Linked DNA regions of Homo sapiens: regions 2, 3 and 4 are each linked to region 1. The links are contacts of gene promoters, found by promoter capture Hi-C in human tissues and cell types (Jung and others, 2019). All regions are on one chromosome and are shown on one strand. Each heading gives the region's core, a stretch centred on a gene start or on the middle of the fragment in contact. The rest is flanking DNA. Distances are from core to core; before and after follow the strand shown.

What was found. Contacts are between HindIII fragments. The study calls those that stand out against the background at their distance.
Region 2: a contact is called between a fragment that was not itself captured here and the fragment with the promoter of SMTNL2 in region 1, in 5 of the 25 tissues and cell types used here (adrenal gland, heart right ventricle, lymphoblastoid cells and 2 more).
Region 3: a contact is called between a fragment that was not itself captured here and the fragment with the promoter of SMTNL2 in region 1, in 1 of the 25 tissues and cell types used here (IMR-90 fibroblasts).
Region 4: a contact is called between a fragment that was not itself captured here and the fragment with the promoter of SMTNL2 in region 1, in 3 of the 25 tissues and cell types used here (heart left ventricle, hippocampus and lymphoblastoid cells).

The regions. Positions count from the first base shown.
Region 1 is chr17:4,581,430-4,586,000 of GRCh38, forward strand. SMTNL2 (smoothelin like 2) reads left to right here and starts at 3,100. Exons shown (of 8, transcript NM_001114974.2): 1 at 3,100-3,575. The coding sequence starts at 3,177. RefSeq lists enhancers at 853-1,426, 2,219-2,838, 2,839-3,458, 4,079-4,571. The HindIII fragment of the contact is 15,336 bases long and covers 1-4,571 here.
Region 2 is chr17:4,202,794-4,207,095 of GRCh38, forward strand. ANKFY1 (ankyrin repeat and FYVE domain containing 1) reads right to left here. Exons shown (of 25, transcript NM_001330063.2): 7 at 3,528-3,693. Among named protein-coding and RNA genes, the nearest start is that of ANKFY1, 59 kb to the right of the region's middle. RefSeq lists a silencer at 4,257-4,302. The HindIII fragment of the contact is 7,321 bases long and covers 1-4,302 here.
Region 3 is chr17:4,847,687-4,851,991 of GRCh38, forward strand. The region is part of intron 1 of MINK1 (misshapen like kinase 1); the gene reads left to right. Among named protein-coding and RNA genes, the nearest start is that of MINK1, 16 kb to the left of the region's middle. RefSeq lists enhancers at 1,264-1,979, 1,980-2,693. The HindIII fragment of the contact is 4,927 bases long and covers 1-4,305 here.
Region 4 is chr17:4,255,128-4,259,750 of GRCh38, forward strand. All of the region lies in intron 1 of ANKFY1 (ankyrin repeat and FYVE domain containing 1), which reads right to left. Among named protein-coding and RNA genes, the nearest start is that of ANKFY1, 6.5 kb to the right of the region's middle. The HindIII fragment of the contact is 5,645 bases long and covers 132-4,623 here.

The DNA.
Region 1 (4,571 bases), core at 1,850-4,349:
AGGCAGGTGGACAGAGCCCACTCCCACCTCAGTTGGGGGATTCAGCCGTCCCACTCCTTCTGTCCTTTCCCCACGCTGTAAGCCCTGCTTGTGTTCCCTCAGACCTGAGGAGTCTGGAGAGTGTGTGGGAAGTTCAGGGGAGAGGCTGGGGGCAGGCGGAGAAGTGGGAGTCGTCGGCACTGAGGTGCAAGCAGTGTGCAGGTGTGGGGGTGAGTGAGACCACCCAGGCAGGTGTGCAGGTGAGAGGGAGGAGGCCCAGCTCAGAGCCCTGGGGACCACCTCAGTGAAGGGAGGAGCAGAAGCACAGTCAGGAAGGTCACTGGGGAGGGAAAGAGGAGAATCACGTAAGTGAGGAGGAGGAGGGAGTGGTCCTGGGGGGTCTCGAGGGCCATGGGGGGCACTGGAGACCTCTGAGGAGCAATTTCAGGGGAGTAAGGCCTCCGGCCAATCCGGGGAGCAGGGAGGAGCTGCTCTGACCTGGTGGAACCTGACTGCTGTACTGGGAGGTGAGCTGGGACTGGCGTGCAGGAAAGAGGGTACTGCACCTTGGGTGTGGGGGCAGGGCCCAGGTTCCAGTACTGTCTCCGCATGCCTTGCTGTGTGGCCTTGGGCCAGTCCCTGCCCCTCTTAGGGCCTCAGTTTCCCCGCCTCAGGCCCAAAGATGGTAACTTCCCTAACTGTGGATTTGATTTTGTGAGACATTGGCAGGGGGGCTGGGGAAAGCTTGTCCTGCATCCTGCATCCAGCCTAGACTCAGAGCAGAGCAGGACGACGGTGGGCAGCAGTAGGGGCAGAGCCAGGAGACTGGAGTGGGAAGGGCAGGCGCCAGGGCCCCCAGGCCTTGGTGGGAGGTTGGCCTCCACTTGCTTGCTGACATCAGGGCTGGTGAATGTGCAGGGAGTCCAGCCAGGTTCACGGGCCCTCACCTCCCTCGCAGCCTGGTACTGGGCAGGAGTGGAGCTAAAGGAGAGTGGGGGAGGGGCCTGCAGGGAAGGCTCACAGGAGCCCCTGGGCCTGGGAACAGAGCTGCAGCCTCGGTCCATCTGTCATGGAGCCAGGTCGGAGGGTGGTGCTGACCCTCCATCCCGCCCCCTTCCCACCCCAGAATCACTCTCTTCCTCATGCTCCTGGCTCTTCTCTCCTCTCCTGGGTGCATCTCCAGCTACTGACTCGGAGATCTGACTGCTGAGAAAAAGGAGCCAAGGGGGATGGTCTTGTACCATCTGCCTTCCCAGAACCCACAGTGAGCCCCCATCTCTGCCCTTGACAGAGTCCCGCCTTCGGCCCCAGAAGCAGCCATGCCCCGTCCCCGAGAAGTTCCTCCTAGAGATTCCCATGTGGCTCAGGAGAGACCAGATAACTAGCCTGAGGCTGGAGAGTGTGGATGGATCCCAGGCAGCCACAGGCTCTACGATCTGTCACCTCCTCCTCCCTGCCAGGCTTCCCACCAATGGCCCAGCCAGCCTGCCTTCTCCCGGAGGATGGAGAGAAGCCTAGAGACCAGCCTGTCCAGTCCCTCTCAAGGCTTCTCCACACGGTCCTTCCTTGGATCTTAGAAGGGAAGGGACTGGGCTTCTGTGGCTGAGACCAGGGTTTTTGAACTCCAGGTTCTTGTGCTGAGACCTGGAGGGGCTTTGAGTGCTGTCTGCGGCAAGAGCAGCAGCAGCGTCTCTGGAGGCTGCTACTAAAGATTCCACCTGGAGAAAGCATTCAGGGAGCAGTTTGGCTCACCCTGTCCAGATGGCTACCTGGAATGCACACACATGCTCACACATATATGCAGCATGCACACCTTTTGGCATTTGCCTTTTTCATGAAATAATTGCTGGAAGGCTCCTTGGATTAGGTAACCCAGCGTTCCTTCCTGTCCCCTTGGGGCTGGGGGCGGGGGAGAGAACCAGCATTTAGCATCTGTCAGGCTGCTCCAGTTCCTTTGGGGCAATGATGGCCAGTCCAGGAGGGTTTGTGGGCTCCAAACAACCTTGGGAGCAGAACATGATATGAACAAGCCTTTCAGACTTCTCCTTCCTGCAGGTCAGCTGGCTATGCATGCCCAGCCTCTGGGCCTCTTTCAGGCAGGCCAGGCTTGGGAAAAAGAAGGCCAATTAGGAAAGGTTTTTTGCACAAAGGAGGATATGTTCTCATTTTTATTTTAAATCAGCTTTATGATATAGCGAAAACTTAGAGTTAGCTTTGCCCATCATCCCATCGTCCTAAAGCAACACCTGTTTCCCTTCTTCCCTTTTCTGGTGATGGTTTGGGGTGTGCATTTGGAAGGGGGAACTATCTGGGTTCAGCCATAAAGAGCATTGAGAAGGAATAGGGGTAAGACCCCTGGCCTACGGGTAGAGGCCAGTGACTGAGACTCTCATTGCGGGAGGGGGCGATTAGTCGCAAAGCCGCCCATTCCAGGATTTGGAGATGCAGCTCCAGCACACCCTTCTTTCTCTGTCTGCCCTTAGCCTCTCCAGGATCTCCTAACGGAGGCCCCTTGGTGGGTCGGGAGCCTCTACCGACCACTAGTGGGAAGGGCACGAAGATCTTGCTATACAGAGTAGGACTGGGAGGGGACAGCGCGTAGTCGCAGAGTCAGGGAGGGGACCTCACCACCTGTCTCCTCCCTGAGGTCTTAGAACAGATACAAGAAATTCCAGGCGAAGGTCCCACAGGTGAGCGTGTGCCTGCGAGAGCCGTGGCCGCTGCATAGGGAGGGCCCCGCGGAGTGGGGCGGCAGCTGTGGGAGCTGTAGGTGTCCCCATTAGCCCGGGAGTCTCCGCCCCCGGAGGAACCTGGGCCTTGCGGGTGAGAGTCCCGAGCGAACGCGTCAGCCCGGGTGTGCTCTCTACGGTCCAGGGGGGCCAGGGCCTTCTTCGGGTGGGCCCGCCGCCCCTCCCGCAGGCCGCACGCCGCTCCTCCGGGGTCGCAGGGCTCAGTTAAGAGCCGGGGAGGGGAGAGGCTGGGCGAGCTCTCCCTCCGCACCGTCCCGCTGGGCTCCAGGGCAGGGGGGTGTCCCGGAGTCGTCCCCGGCTCCGCCCCCGAGGCCCCGCCCCGCGCCCGCCTCCCCGGCAGCCCCTCGAGCGAAGCCAGCCACGGACGGCCAGTCGCGGCCCGGAGCTGCGGAGCTCGGATCTTCTCCCCCGTCTGGCCCGCTCTCGACCCGCGCGCTCTGCTGGGCCATGGAGCCGGCCCCCGACGCCCAGGAGGCGCGCACTGTGCGCGAGGCGCTGGGCCGCTACGAGGCGGCGCTGGAGGGTGCGGTGCGCGCGCTGCACGAGGACATGCGGGGGCTGCAGCGCGGCGTGGAGCGGCGAGTGGCAGAGGCGATGCGCCTGGCCGGCCCCCTGGCGCGCACGGTGGCCGACCTGCAGCGGGACAACCAGCGGCTGCAGGCGCAGCTCGAGCGCCTGACGCGCCAGGTGGAGGCGCTGGGCTTGGCCAGCGGGATGTCCCCGGTGCCCGGCACTCCCGGCACGCCCAGCCCCCCGCCCGCGCCCGGGGTTCCCGACCGCGCGCCCCGCCTGGGCAGCGCACGCTTCGCCAGCCACGCCACCTTCTCGCTGTCCGGCCGCGGCCAGGTGAGCCCGGGGGAGCGCGTGCGCTGGCGCCAGGGAGTGGGGCTCCGAACCGGGTGCCGCCCCTTCGCCCCGACTGCCTGCCTCTGCTCGCGTCTGCGGGGTTGGGGCCTTCACCGGCCGCTCGGACTAGGTGATGGGGGTCCTGCCGCCCCTCCGGAGTTGGAGAGGGCGGGGGGAGGACCGCTGAGCCTGCCAGCTGCACCTGTCTTGGTCCTCCGCCCTGTTTTAGAGCCAGGCTCTGTTTGCTCAGAGTCCTGTCTCCCTCTCTCCTCTGTCCCATGACATCAACGGCTTGGGCGCCGAAGTCCGGCCCCTGACTGTTCAGCACTGCCTGGAGCCACGCGGGGCATGTTGGAATGGTCGACACCCCTGCCTGACCCCCACCCTCCATTCACGCTCCCCTGCGTTGCCGCTTCACTGAGGCCTGACGGCTCTGGTTATTGATTAACTCAGATTGAGAACTCAGGCCCCTGGATGGGTGGGGAGGGGGGTCGAGGGGGACGCGATCAGCAGCGGCTTTTGGGAACTCTCCATCGCAGGGGGTAAATCCCTTACCGTGAAGGGAGAGAGGTGGAAACCCGCCTTGAGCCGTGTCTAGATTCCTCGGGTCAGTGACTAGCCAGAGGCCCACACCACGTGGGGATAGGGCGGAGGCCGACGTGGACCAGTCACTACCTTGCGCATGGGCCACCCAGAGCAGTTAGAATGTGTCCATGGTGTGTGCAGTGGCCCTTGGGTGGGATTTTCCATCCTGATCAGGCATGTGCTCTCGGGTTGGGTTCCCAGGATCTGGGGCTGTGTAGCCTGCACCTGCTCCCTCCTTGGTGCAATCCCTGGGGCTCTCAGATTTCCCGCTGTGGGCTGGGCTGGACCCTAGGGGGCCTGGAGGAGGGTATCAGATTGGGCCTTCCCCCTGGAGGTCCCATCCAGGGTGGGAGATGGCCCCAGACCAAGTTTGGGCAGCCAGAGATGTTTTGCTCCAAACACAGTAGTTAG
Region 2 (4,302 bases), core at 1,530-4,029, 380 kb before region 1:
ATAAACTGGGCAATACTGCACAGGTATATGAAAACCTATGAATGACTGGATTCAGATGGATAGCATGATAAAAAAAAATTTTATATCTTAAATCCTTAAGTCCTCTTAGAAGAATTATAGACTTTGGATCAGATTTACTTTATTAATAAGATCCAAATATAAAGTTCTTTTTACTTATAATCATACACATATATATATATATATATATTCACCCCACACAAAGAAGCTATTTAGAAATTACTAGAAATAGAAAATTAATAAAGTTTTACATTAAAAGAAAGCCCAGAGGGTACATAAAGGAAAAGGACAACTGATATCAGAAGAGCAGAACAAAGGGAGGGAACAGAAAATGTCACAATCACCGTTTATAAGGTTTCTGTCAATAAGAAAATGGTTAACACATTTTAGAAAGATTTCAAATCATCAGAAACAGTTAAAATAAAAGCTGGTGCTTAAAAGTTTCAGTTACTTCATCACCTCATTCACTGACACTGCCAGGTAAATGAGGCATGACTATTGACTATTACAATCCGTCCATATAAAAATATTCCTAACAAAAAACTTCACACTAAAAAAATCCATATATAATATTTCTTTCAATGCAGCTTCTTGATGGTTTTATTCAGCCAGTAACCTTCATTATTCAATTAATACAAACCATATTTCATGCTGCTCCAGTTGGTGGCATCATTTTCAAATTTACTAAAAATAACAGGAACAATCTACTGAAGAAACTCATCGGCCAGGCGCAGTGGCTCACGTCTTTAATCCCAGCACTCTGGGAGGCTGAGGCGGGCGGATCACCTAAGGTTGGGAGTTCAAGACCAGCCTGACCAACATGGAGAAACCCAGTCTCTACTAAAAATACAAAATTAGCCGGGCGTGGTGGCAGGTGCCTGTAATCCCAGCTACTCAGGAGGCTGAGGCAGGAGAATCGCTTGAACCTGGGAGGCAGAGGTTGCAGTGAGCCGAGACCGAGCCATTGCACTCCAGCCTGGGTGACAGGAGCGAAACTCCGTCTCAACAACAACAACAAAAAAAAAAAAAAAAAGAAAGAAAGAAAGAAAAAAGAAACCCATCAACTGATGTTGGTTATTAAGGTAAAAAAGTTCAGGAAGAACTGTTTTTATAAAGTGAAGACTCATCTTCTTGCTCAGATCAGGCTAATCCAAGGAGATGGCATCCCTCTGGCCAAACATGTGCCCCCTGTGGACTCCCCCAAGACACTGCCTGCCTGTTCCACTCTTTAGATAAAATGACTGGTATACTTGGTTATTAGGATGATCACTGACTATTTTGTTGACAGATTCTAATGTGTGCTCAGACTAAACCAAAATCTCATATATTAAAGACTTTCACTCTTTAACAGTTAAAGTGAAAAAAACTCCTACAGGAACTGGACCTGGTTATGGCATTTCCAACGCAGGGGCAAGCGATGAATGGCAGGGTTGACCCCACCATTCCCCTGGTAATCACTGCTGGGTGTACTACTAACATTGCCTCGCATTCTCTGAACAAACCAATAAAGCAAAAGTAATTCCCACTTTATGGATAAGGAAGACGTAGAATGTGACTTGTCCAAGGCCACAGAGTAAACAGATGAGCTCAGATTCAAACCTTGGTGAATACCAGCTTCATAAAGCCAGTGCTCTGTCTACCGTAATATGCAACACTCTAAAGTTAGCAAAATCAAGTTTATTATACCCACGCTGTAATCCACATACTTGCAAGCAATTAATAAACTCAGAGTGGAAGGTTAAATCATCTGAAAATAAACATCAAAAATGTATCACTAATTCTTGGCAATTCTTGTATCTAAGCAATCACCAAAATATTTAATAACTCAAAGATGATTTATCATCAAACATAAGAATTAACTCCCTGGGAGGAAAGAAACAAAATTCTCAGATTTTTTTTTTTTAGTAACAGGGTATCTGTTTCCAAAATAAACATCTCAGACACGAAACAGTGTGGGAAAGAATCATTCCCTACGTGGTGGAGATTTCCCCACTGAATCACACTCAGTGCTAAGCACCCGCTGGCTTTGCACAGCACATAACGGTGCTTGAGGAAGATGCATCTGCTCTTGACACTGACATACTCGAAGGATTTCCTACCCAGTGATGAGCAAAATTTTCCTCTCTACCAGCCAGCAAGCTCAGCACTCCAGCACATGGCTTATAAGGATACTTGTATTAAAACCTTGGCCCAAAAAGGACAAAGCTGGCACAGGACCACATCTTGATGTAACTACATTCCACCAACTAGGAGCAATTTGTGAATGGCAAAAATGTAGCACAGACAATAATAGTATAACAATGCATCATCAAAAGGGGAAAATATAGATGATTAAGATGGAACGAAACAAGTAGATTCTCTCTTTGATGTCTACGTGTAAGTAAAAAAAAGTGGCCATGGCAATGCACTTCAATCAAGTCAACCATCCCTCCACAAAACTAACGCTTTGACACTTTGGAAAGCTTTCATTTCTCACTGGAACTCTACCTCTATACAGATTTCACTCTGTCTAAAATGACCATTGCAAAGCAAAATCAGCCCAGATCCATTTGGGACTCATGAATTAGTAAGACTATGGAAAAAAACAAACAAAAACCTAGTATTTTTTTTTTCCTTTGACAAGTTAATTCATTAAGATTAAAATGTTCTGGGAGGACGCGGTGGCTCACGCCTCTAATCCCAGCACTTTGGGAGGCCAAGGTGGGTGGATCACCAGGTCAGGAGATCGAGACCATCCTGGCTAACACGGTGACACCCCGTCTCTACTAAAAATACAAAAAATTAGCTGGGCGTGGTGGTGGGCACCTGTAGTCCCAGCTACTGGGGAGGCTGAGGCAGGAGAATGGCATGAACCCAGGAGGCGGAGCTTGCCGTGAGCCAAGATCGCACCACTGCACTCCAGCCTGGGCGACAGAACAAGACTCCGTCTCAAAAAAAAAAAAAGATTTAAATGTTTTGTTCTCAAGTCTATCATTTCTGTATTCTTCCAACTATTAACAATGCATTCAAAATATAGCTACAATTTCAAATAACTCTGCTAGAACAAAATGAAACTCTATCAATTTATCATAATAGAGGCCTAGCCTGTTAAAGTGAAAACCCTGAAGCTAAGAACACGTTTCAAGGTTTATGGTTTTGCTACTATCCTTGTATCTGTGGTAGAATACAAAAGCAAAACCTTCCTAGCACAATTCCTGGAGAAAGCCATCCATTGAACAAGCAAACATATCAAGTGCTTACAAGTAAAAGGTACTTCTTCACACAAGTACCATCTTTGTAGCCTTTCTTTCTGGGGCCCTGTTGGCACGGTGAATGGCCAAACTAACACGGCATAGGCAACAGCTCTTGAGTGCTTCCTCTGACCCAATGATCAAATTCTAGATCATGTAGCCTGTGAGTACAGACTACAGAAGCCTTTGAGAATTTTGGGAACAAGGTCAGAAAGTCTTCAAAAATTACTCGGATAAAAATAAAATTGCCTGCAGGGAAACATACACACTTCTTCCTACCTCTTTGGATTCCTTTGTGTAACAAGCTCCAGCCACTCTTGTCCACCATGTCCACATCAGCTTTGTGACTAACCAGCGTGGTGGCAATACTCTCCAGTCGTCGTGAGAGGGCTAGATCTAATGCCAGATCTCCGTTATGATCCGCTTCATTCAGCTTCCCAGGGAGCTACACAAACAAGTTTGTAAATTAGCGCCCAGTGAGTAGAGAATACGACCTATTTTAATTTCTCCCACCTTGACCCTTAAATATCATCTCTTATACAAATGTCAAATTTAAGTGCTCCAACACTGCTTACTCCCCAAATTCAACTTTATTCACAAACTTCTATCAGGCTTCCTCAGGGTACATGTTTTCAGGGAGTACAGAATTAATGGGGACCACATAGCCAACATAAACAATGTGGGAGACGATTAAAGGCCACCAGGAAAATGTGGACAGAGTGCTGTGGGGCACGAGTGCCAGGCAGAGGCTCAGAGAGTTTTACGGTGAACAGCTAATGTTTTCATGAAAGGCAGTGGCGTTCCTATTTCATTCTTCCCAGCAGTTTAATGTCTCCCCATACACTGGACACCCGGGATAAAACATACTTCGCTCCCATCTGTCAAGAGCCATTACATTTCTTTCAAGGTCATATGGTGGGCAGAATTATCACCCCCCCCAAAGACGGACATGTCCTAATCCCCAGAACCTATAAACATACCACGTTACATGGCAAAAGGCACTTTGAGGATGTGATTAAGGACCTTGTGATGGGGACAGTATCCCAGATTATCC
Region 3 (4,305 bases), core at 764-3,263, 270 kb after region 1:
GAGGTGGTGACTGTGTGTTAAGCTGGGAGGAGCTGACAGAAACGGGGGGTGCCAGTGGCCAGGGCGGGTGGTGTCTCAGAGCTGGTCTCGGAAACATCAGTTCCTACTGTGTAGAGAGATCTCAGGTTGGGCGCAGTGTTGGAGTGTGGGTATGGAGCCCAGCATCCATGGGAAGGACACAAAAAATAAAGGGAAGTTTCAGAAAAAGGTCTGGGCCCAGTACAGTGGCTCATGCTTGTACTCCCAGCACTTTGGGAGGCAGAGGTGGGTGGAGTGCTTGAGCTCAGTAGCTTGAGACCAGCCTGGGCAACATAGAGACCTCATCTCTGTTTAAAAGAGGAGAGATGGGGGAGAGAGAGGAAGAAGGAGGGAGGGAGGACGGGAGGGACTCTGAAGGACTATTTGATTTGAAATATGACCTTCAGAATATGTACACTCCAGAGACGGTTTCCTGAGTCTGCTAGTGCTGAGGAGGAAGAGCAGTCAGAACCAAATGGGGATTGACTTGTGAAGACAGGGAATTGTTCCTTAGGGACAGAGAGGAACCTGGAATGGGGGACCTTCCCCATCGCTCCCTGCAACTGCACAGACCTTGGAGACAGACTTGATTCAAACCCCAGTTCTGTCACTTACTACGTGTTCTTTGGCAAGTAACTCATACCCCTATGCCTCAGTGTTTGGGGGTATTTTTTGAGACGGAGTCTCACTCTATCGCCCAGGCTGGAGTGCAGTGGCGTGATCTCGGCTCACTGCAAACTCCGCCTGCCAGGTTCATGCCATTCTCCTGCCTCAGCCTCCCAAGTAGCTGGGACTACAGGCACCTGCCACCACACCTGGCTAATTTTTTGTATTTTTAGTAGAGACGGGGTTTCACCGTGTTAGCCAGGATGGTCTCCATCTCCTGACCTCGTGATCCGCCTGCCTCGGCCTCCCAAAGTGCTGGGATTACAGGCGTGAGCCACCGCGCCTGGCCTCGTTTTTGTATTTTTTAGTAGAGATGGGGTTTTGCCATGTTGGCTAGGCTTGTCTTGAGCTCCTGACCTCAGGTGATCCGTCTGCCTCAGCCTCCCAAAGTGCTGGGATTACAGGCCTAAGCCACCGCGAACCTGGCCCCTGTGCCTCAGTTTTGTCCTTTGTAAAATGAAGGTAACAAGACTCACCTAATAGGGATGTTGAGAGGATTAAATAAAAGGGATGTAAAGTGCTTAGTCTGGTAAATGCTCATTAGACAGGTGGTAGCTGCCCAACATCTCTTATTGCACAAAGTTCCCAGAAAGCGTGTCTCCTGGGGTTCTTTAACATTCCTCTCCCCCTGACTTAGTATTTTGTTTAAGAAAGAGAAAACCACCCAGTCTATTGATTTTAAGGTAAATGGCTGAGAGTGAGTCAGTGAGCCCCAGGTGTAGACCTGGAATTCTGTGGGCTTGGCTTCCCTTTCCCAGTCCTAGAGCCTCCTACCATCTCCTGAAAGTCTTCCAGCGTCACTGCAAGGAAGAGTAACTTCAAAATCTTCTATCTGAACACGAAACTCCTGTTTGTCCTGACTCAGGAATTCCGGCAATCACTGGGCAGTCACTCTGGCCCTGCGTGCTGTTTTCTGTAAAAGCTCTGGACCCACCCAGAGAAAGCATTCAGCCTGAGGGGAAAACCTATGCCTCACCCTTGGGGACACACAGCTTTGTTGGGATGTGAGAGACAAGACATTGGCACAGAAATGTATAAAGAGCTTTATTGAAAGGCACAGATTGAAGGCTGGGCGGCTCAGGATGCTGGGCTCCTTACTCTGCCTTGCCTGGAGATTTGAGATTCCTGCCTTGAGCCTTTGTGTGCTCCCCACCCCTGCTCCTCCCTTGGCTAACTCTTGCCTGTCCCTGTGGTCTCAGCGTGTTTTGTTTGTTTGTTTGAGATGGAGTTTTGCTCTTGTTGCCCAGGCTGGAGTGCAATGGTGCGATCTTGGCTCATCGCAACCTCCATCTCCTGGTTTAAGCGATTCTCCTGCCTCAGCCTCCCGAGTAGCTGGGATTACAGGCACCCGCCACCATGCCCGGCTAATTTTTTGTATGTTTAGTAGAGGTGGGGTTTCTCCATGTTGGTCAGGCTAGTCTCGAACTCCCGGCCTCAGGTGGTCCGCCCGCCTCGGCCTCCCAAAGCGCTGGGATTACAGGTGTGAGCCACCGCGCCCGGCTGGTCTCAGCTTAAACATCACTTCCTTAGCGAGCCTTTCCTGGCTCCCTTCCCATCTTGACCTCCCTTTAATCTTTCTTTTCTTCTTTTTTTTGAGACACTGTCTCCCTCTGTCATCCAGGCTGTAGTGCAGTGGCGCAAGCGTGGCTCACTGCAGCCTCCTTGAATCGTTCTGATAGCACTCTGTATTTTTTCATCAGAGTCTTTCACAGGTGTTGTGTAATTATGTCTTTAATGTCTGCTTCCTTGATTAGACTGTAAGCTCCATGAAGGAAGAAGGGACCATTTCTGTTTTGTTCAACGCCACGTTGTAGTATCTAGCAATGCCTCTACATAGCTGACACTCAGTGTTTGTTGAATGAATGCATGAGCTGGCTCACCAGGCCATAGATTTGGCATGAAAGGTGTCTGGGAAGGTTTCTTAGGATAAACAGGAGAGACAGGCCTGGTGAAAAGTTGAGTGAACATGTTTGCTCCATCCTGCTGGTCAGGAAGTTCCCCTTCTGTCTCACCTGCGTCTCTTCAGCTGTAATTTATCCTGGGTTGGTCCTTGGTGGGGCCAGAGAATATCTGGTCTCCACCCTTTGGAGAGTAACCCTGTTCTTTCTCAGAGTGTGATTCAGACAGTCCTTCCTCCCCTTCCTGCTGGCCCCCCCCGCCCTCTACCTGTTCTTCCTACAGCTGACTCAGCTTCACACCCTCTCCCTCTCCTTCCAGGATCTCTTTTCCTGTCCCCTTGTCCTTCAGAGCTTTCCTTCCTAAGTTTTCTCTCATGGCCTGTCATTGGTCTTCTGGAATTCGAAATCATATGGGTACAGGTCACAAGTTTTCTTGGTCATGAAGCTTCTCTAGTCTCTTCCTTGGGTTTGTGGACACCTGACTCCCACAGAAGGAGGCTGGCAATAAGATATAATGATCTGTTTGTGCTGCAATTGAAAACCAGCAGCAAGAAGCCTTATTATTATCCAACCCCTCATTACTAGTGTTGTCCTCCTCCGTTAGCTTGGTATCTGCCAGCCTGAACGGGCCTGGCATCTCCTTTCTGCCCCCTCCCACTGCCATGCTGTGCCCTTCCTTGCTCTCTCTGGTGTCTGCTTCCCAGGGACTGGCCCTCCTCCCTGCCCCTGTCAGCCTGCCTCCGAGGCCACAGATCTGGTTTTCCTCCCTTCTGTCTCACCTGCCTTCCTCTCAATTCTACTTTTTATCTTGTTTCTTCTCTCCTGAACTGCCACACTTCACCCTAAATCCCAGTAACGCCAACAGTTTTGGTAAATCACTTTTTGCCACAGTTTTGCCTTGCTTTGTGGGAGCCAGTTTCTTCATAATGACTCTATGCAAATTTGTAGCATTTTATGGATTTTAAAATGTTTCCACATCGGTGAATTCTTGTGAAATGGGCCTGGGTAGATAAGGAAAAGAACCTCCAAGAGGTTAAGTGATTTGCGGATTTGCCTAAATTATACAGAAGAGTCAGAACCAGTGCCCAGGCCTTCTGATTCTTAGTGCAGTAAACACTAAGCACCATCATTCCATTTCACCACACTCCTGTCTTGCTGTTGTCCTCAGCTAAGAAAGCCTACCCCTGAGTTACCCTCTTCCATCTTAGAGCCTTCCTGCTCGCTGTCTGCCCCCCTGCGATGGGGACTTCTTTGGCCCTTCTCACCCAGCCCAGCCTCTGCCCGTTTCCTTCTCCTTTCCACTGCGCTGAGCTCTTTTCTCCTCCGAGAAGCCTTCCCTTCATCTCTCCTGGCCCCATTGTCTCCCGACCTCTTTGGGCCATTATTAGTGTTCCCGTGTGGTTTTTGCCAACCACGTAGGAATTCCCTGCCTTAAGAAAGTCCACTCTCGGGCCGTGCGTGGTGGCTCACGCCTGTAATCCCAGCACTTTAGGAGGCCAAGGTGGGTGGATCACCTGAGGTCAGGAGTTCAAGACCAGCCTGACCAACAAGGTAAACCCTGTCTCTACTAAAAATACAAAAATTAGCCGGGTGTGGTGGCTTGTGCCTGTAATCCCAACTACTTGGGAGGCTGGGACAGGAGAATCACTTGAATCGGGGAGGCAGAGGATGCGGTGAGCTGAGATCACCCCACTGCACTCCAGCCTGGGCAACAGAGTGAGAC
Region 4 (4,623 bases), core at 1,704-4,203, 330 kb before region 1:
ACTGTATTCAGTCTTTCTAGATTCACATCACCCTGGCATTTCCTTTCTCTACACTCCTATAGTTCTTCTATTCTAGCCAAAACTTTAGCAATGAATTAGTGTTCTTCATGTAATTCTTTTTTTTTTTTTTTTTTTTTGAGACAAGAGTTTCTCTTGTCGCCCAGACTGGAGTGCAATGGTGTGATCTTGGCTCATGGCAACCTCTGCCTCCCGGGTTCAAGCAATCCTCCTGCCTCAGCCTCCTGAAGCAGCTGAGATTACAGGCGCCTGCCACCATGCCCAGCTAATTTTTTTGTATTCTTAGCAGAGACAGGATTTCGCCATGTTGGCCAGGCTGGTCTTGAACTCCTGACCTGAGGTGATCCCCTGGCCTCGGCCTCCCAAAGTGCTGGGATTACAGGCATAAGCCACCGTGCCCAGTCTCTTCATGTAATTCTTTAATGACTAAATGACTTTATACCTATTCTGCTTTAACTATGTCCATTAGATAAAAGAGAAATGATTGTAAAGGCTGTGATAACATTCTATTTGGAGAACTACAAGAATAATTTTTTGTTCCAGGCTTATATTAGGATCTTCCACAAAAAAATATTTCATTAAAGTGTCAGCTTCCCAGAAAATACTATCTTCCTTGGCATCAGATTAGAAAAGCTCTTCACTGGTGATTAATTACCACCACTACTACTTTTCTTTTTTTTTTTTCTTTTGAAACGGAGTCTCACTCTTGTCGCCCAAGCTGGAGTGCAATGGCGCGATCTCAGCTCACTGCAACCTCCGCTTCCCAGGTTCAAGCAATTCTTCTGCCTCAGCCTCCCGAATAGCTAGGATTACAGGAGTGCACCACCAAGCCTGGCTAATTTTTGTATTTTTAGTAGAGACGGGGTTTCACCATGTTGCTCAGGCTAGTCTCAAACTCCTGATCTTGTGACCTGCCCGCCTCGGCCTCCCAAAGTGCTGGGATTACAGGTGTGAGGCACCACGCCCAGCCCACAAATATGGATGTTTAAAAGCTCCCAGGTGGCCAGGCGCGGTGGCTCATGCCTGTAATCCCAGCACTTTGGGAGGCCAAGGCGGGCGGATTACGAACTGAGGAGATCGAGACCATCCTGGCTAACAGAGTGAAACCCCGTCTCTATTAAAAATACAAAAAATTAGCCAGGCGCAGTGGCGGGCGCCTGTAGTCCCAGCTACTCAGGAGGCGGAGGCAGGAGAACGGCGTGAACCCGGGAGGTGGAGCCTGCAGTGAGCTGAGATCGCACCACTGCACTCCAGCCTGGGCAATAGAGCGAGACTCCATCTCAAAAAAAGAAAAAACTCCCAGGTTAACTGTACTGTGCAGGGTTCTCCAGGTTGAGAACTATGTACTAATGGAACGAGGGAGAGAGGAAAGCACAGATGTGAGAGGTGTACAGCATCCGGGGGATTTGGTGACTGATGCAGATCTTGGGGGGAGTCGGAGATAACTTTTTGGTGACTGACTTGAGAGTCTGGCTGAAAAGTAGTGCCATTAATCATGAATATAGAAGAGAAAACCTGGTATAACTAGAAAGCAACATGCATGCTTATTTGAAATACTTTGCCTTCCCCTCTCTGTTCTGCAAGTTCCATTAAGGTTAAGGTTGTGTCTTGCTCATTTTGTCATCTCTGGCACAGTAGCTTGCACCTACCGTGAAATACGTTTTTCCTGAATGCAATTCAACTCTGCTAGGTTCGTCTGCCTCATGTTACAGTTGGTGGCATGACTTACACATCTTTCAAAAGCTCACCGTGTATAGCAGTGACAATTGGGCTGGTTTCATAAGAGATGCATAACAAATATTAGCTAACTAGCCATTTCCACCCCAAACTCCTGACTGGAAACACTTCCAACTTAGACATCACCACATAGAAGTATACTGGGCAAAGCAAATATGTCCAAAAGTGAGGTCAAAATACTTGTTCTCCAATCTATTCCTCCTCTACCTCTTAGCAGCTCAGCCATTTGTCTGAGTCATCCAGACCTAGAACTTGAGTCATCTTTGATTCTCTCTCATCAACATTCAACCAGGTTTCAAAAGTCCTGTCTTTCATACGTTCTGTGGTCTTTCTCCCATCAGTCCTCACCAGCCCCACAGCCTCTACCAAATGGCTCACCATCAACTGCTACAGCTTGCTCTCTGACTTCCTTTCTTCCCAATCCATCCTCTACACTGCAGTCATTTCGCCATGCCTCACACAATTCCTGTTCTGTCGCTACCGTGGCTGATTCCTTTCGGTAGTATCGCTCCATGAGTCTCAGAATAAAATCCAAATGCTGAACCAATGCCCTTAATAATCTGGCCCTTAACATACTCTTCCAACTTCACATCCCACTAATTCCTTCCACCTAGAACAGTGACCTCTCCTCAATCTCATGTCCCCATGTCCAAAGGAGGGCCATTTTTCAAAGCTCAGTTCAAGCAATGTCTCCTGCAACAAGACTTTCCCTGATTATCCAAAATACATTCCCCATTACTTCCTTAAAAAATCTCTCCCTGAGTTTTCAAAGTAACTCCTAAGCATTTTTTACCCTTCACCTTAAAATATAGTTTCTCATATACAATTTCTTTTATCTCCCCTCCTAGACTTCAGAACTCCCTGTGAATAAGCTTTAGTTCTGGCTATTCGTATTTAACTATCAATTACTTCTCCCTCTATACCCATTCCATGGTTATCTCCTCCTCCCGACAGTACCTTACCAGATGGAGTTCAATAAATACCACAGGTTCAACAGGAGATTCTGGGGACATAGCAATTTCTCATTTGGTTCAGCAAGGCTGTAAATCATGATAGTATCTCAAATTGCCTACAGCAAATCACCTTGCCAGTGACAGAATCCTGTGTATCTCAGCACAATTCAGTAGCTTTACTTTGACATAACCACTAATGGATAAATTTTATTTCTCAGTAAAAATAATTCACAAGGAGAAAGCTAACAGCTACAGCTGGTGACAGTAGTCACCAGGAAAGGGAGAGAAAAGAAAAGAATGGTATAAAAGGAACAGTCCTTAAGAGGTCTCTGGACTATATATAATTATCAATGACCTGGGACATTTGTTCAATAAGTAAAACAATAAACAGATAAATTTCAGAAGTAGGGCCGGGCGCGGTGGCTCACGCCTGTAATCCCAGCACTTTGGGAGGCCGAGGCGGGCGGATCACGAGGTCAGGAGATCAAGACCATCCTTGCTAACACGGTGAAACCTCATCTCTACCAAAAATACAAAAAATTAGCCAGGCTTGGTGGCGGGCGCCTGTAGTCCCAGCTACTCGGGAGGCTGAGATAGGAGAATGGTGTGAACCTGGGAGGGGAGCTTGCAGTGAGCCGAGATCGCACCACTGCACTCCAGCCTGGGAGACAGAGCCAGACTCCAACTCAAAAAAAAAAAAAAAAAGTGGAAACAGCAAAGTTCCTTCTTTCCTTATTTCTACCAGCCTCCACTAATGAAGCATTTTCTGGAACAGGACTATCCAAAGCACTTCTGGCAATGGTGCAAGTGTTCTATTAATCTGTGCTGTCCATTAGGGGGAGCTACTAGCCACATGGCTACTGAGTACTTGGAATAGGACTAGTACAACTGAGAAGTTAATTTTAAATTTTATTTAATTTTAATCAAATTTAAGTAGCCACATGTGGCTAGTGACTATTGTGTTGGTCAATGAATACCCAGGACATGGAATGTTTTCCCCATTTTGCTTGGGTTGTTGTCAAAAGTATTTTTCTGATCAAATTCCATCAAGCTAACAAAAGTTTATGATAAATTTTCTGTTCAATATACTATTTACAAAAAAATTACATTTTTTTCAATTTTTACTTTTACTGAGGAAAAGAAATGGAGAGTGATTTTAGAGGAGACTCAAGAGAAAGACTGTGCACCAGGGTGAAAGCATCAGGCGCTGTGGGAAAAGCATCAGTCGCTGTGGAAGAAACATTAGGCGCTGTGGAAAAAGGCTCTTCCTGCAACTGAGAAATATCCTAGGATTCCCACAGCTACTTGTGAGCTACAGATGATCCCCCTTTTAAAGCTGAGGACACTGAGACTGACAGCAATTAATTGACTTGCTTATGATCACAGCTTAAACTAGGATTTAAATCCATGTCCAGCTGCAGAGTCTGAGCTCTTAAACACTACATTTTATTTTATTATTATTATTTTTTGAGACAGTCTCTGTTGCTCAGGCTGGAGTGCGGTGGCGCGATCTCGGATCACTGCAACCTCCACCTTCCGGGTTCAAGTGATTCTCCTGACTCAAGTCTCCTGAGCAGCTGGGATTACAGGCACATGCCACCATGCCTGGCTAATTTTTGTATGTTTAGTAGAGATGGGGTTCCACCATGTTGGTCAGGCTGGTCTGGAACTCCTGACCTCAAGTGATCCGCCCACCTTGGCCTCCCAAAGTGCTGAGATTACAGGCGTGAGCCACCGTGCCCGGCCTTAAACATTGTATTTTAGTTGCTAAAACAAAAATGGGCTGGATGAAAAGTAGGTTAGGTAGCTCCTAGCAGACTTAGGTTATGCAGAGTATAATAAAAGGTGGACCAGCCAGTTTGCTTGACAAGAGGCTAAGGATGTATCCAGGCAACTTTTCTTGATGGCTAGCAGG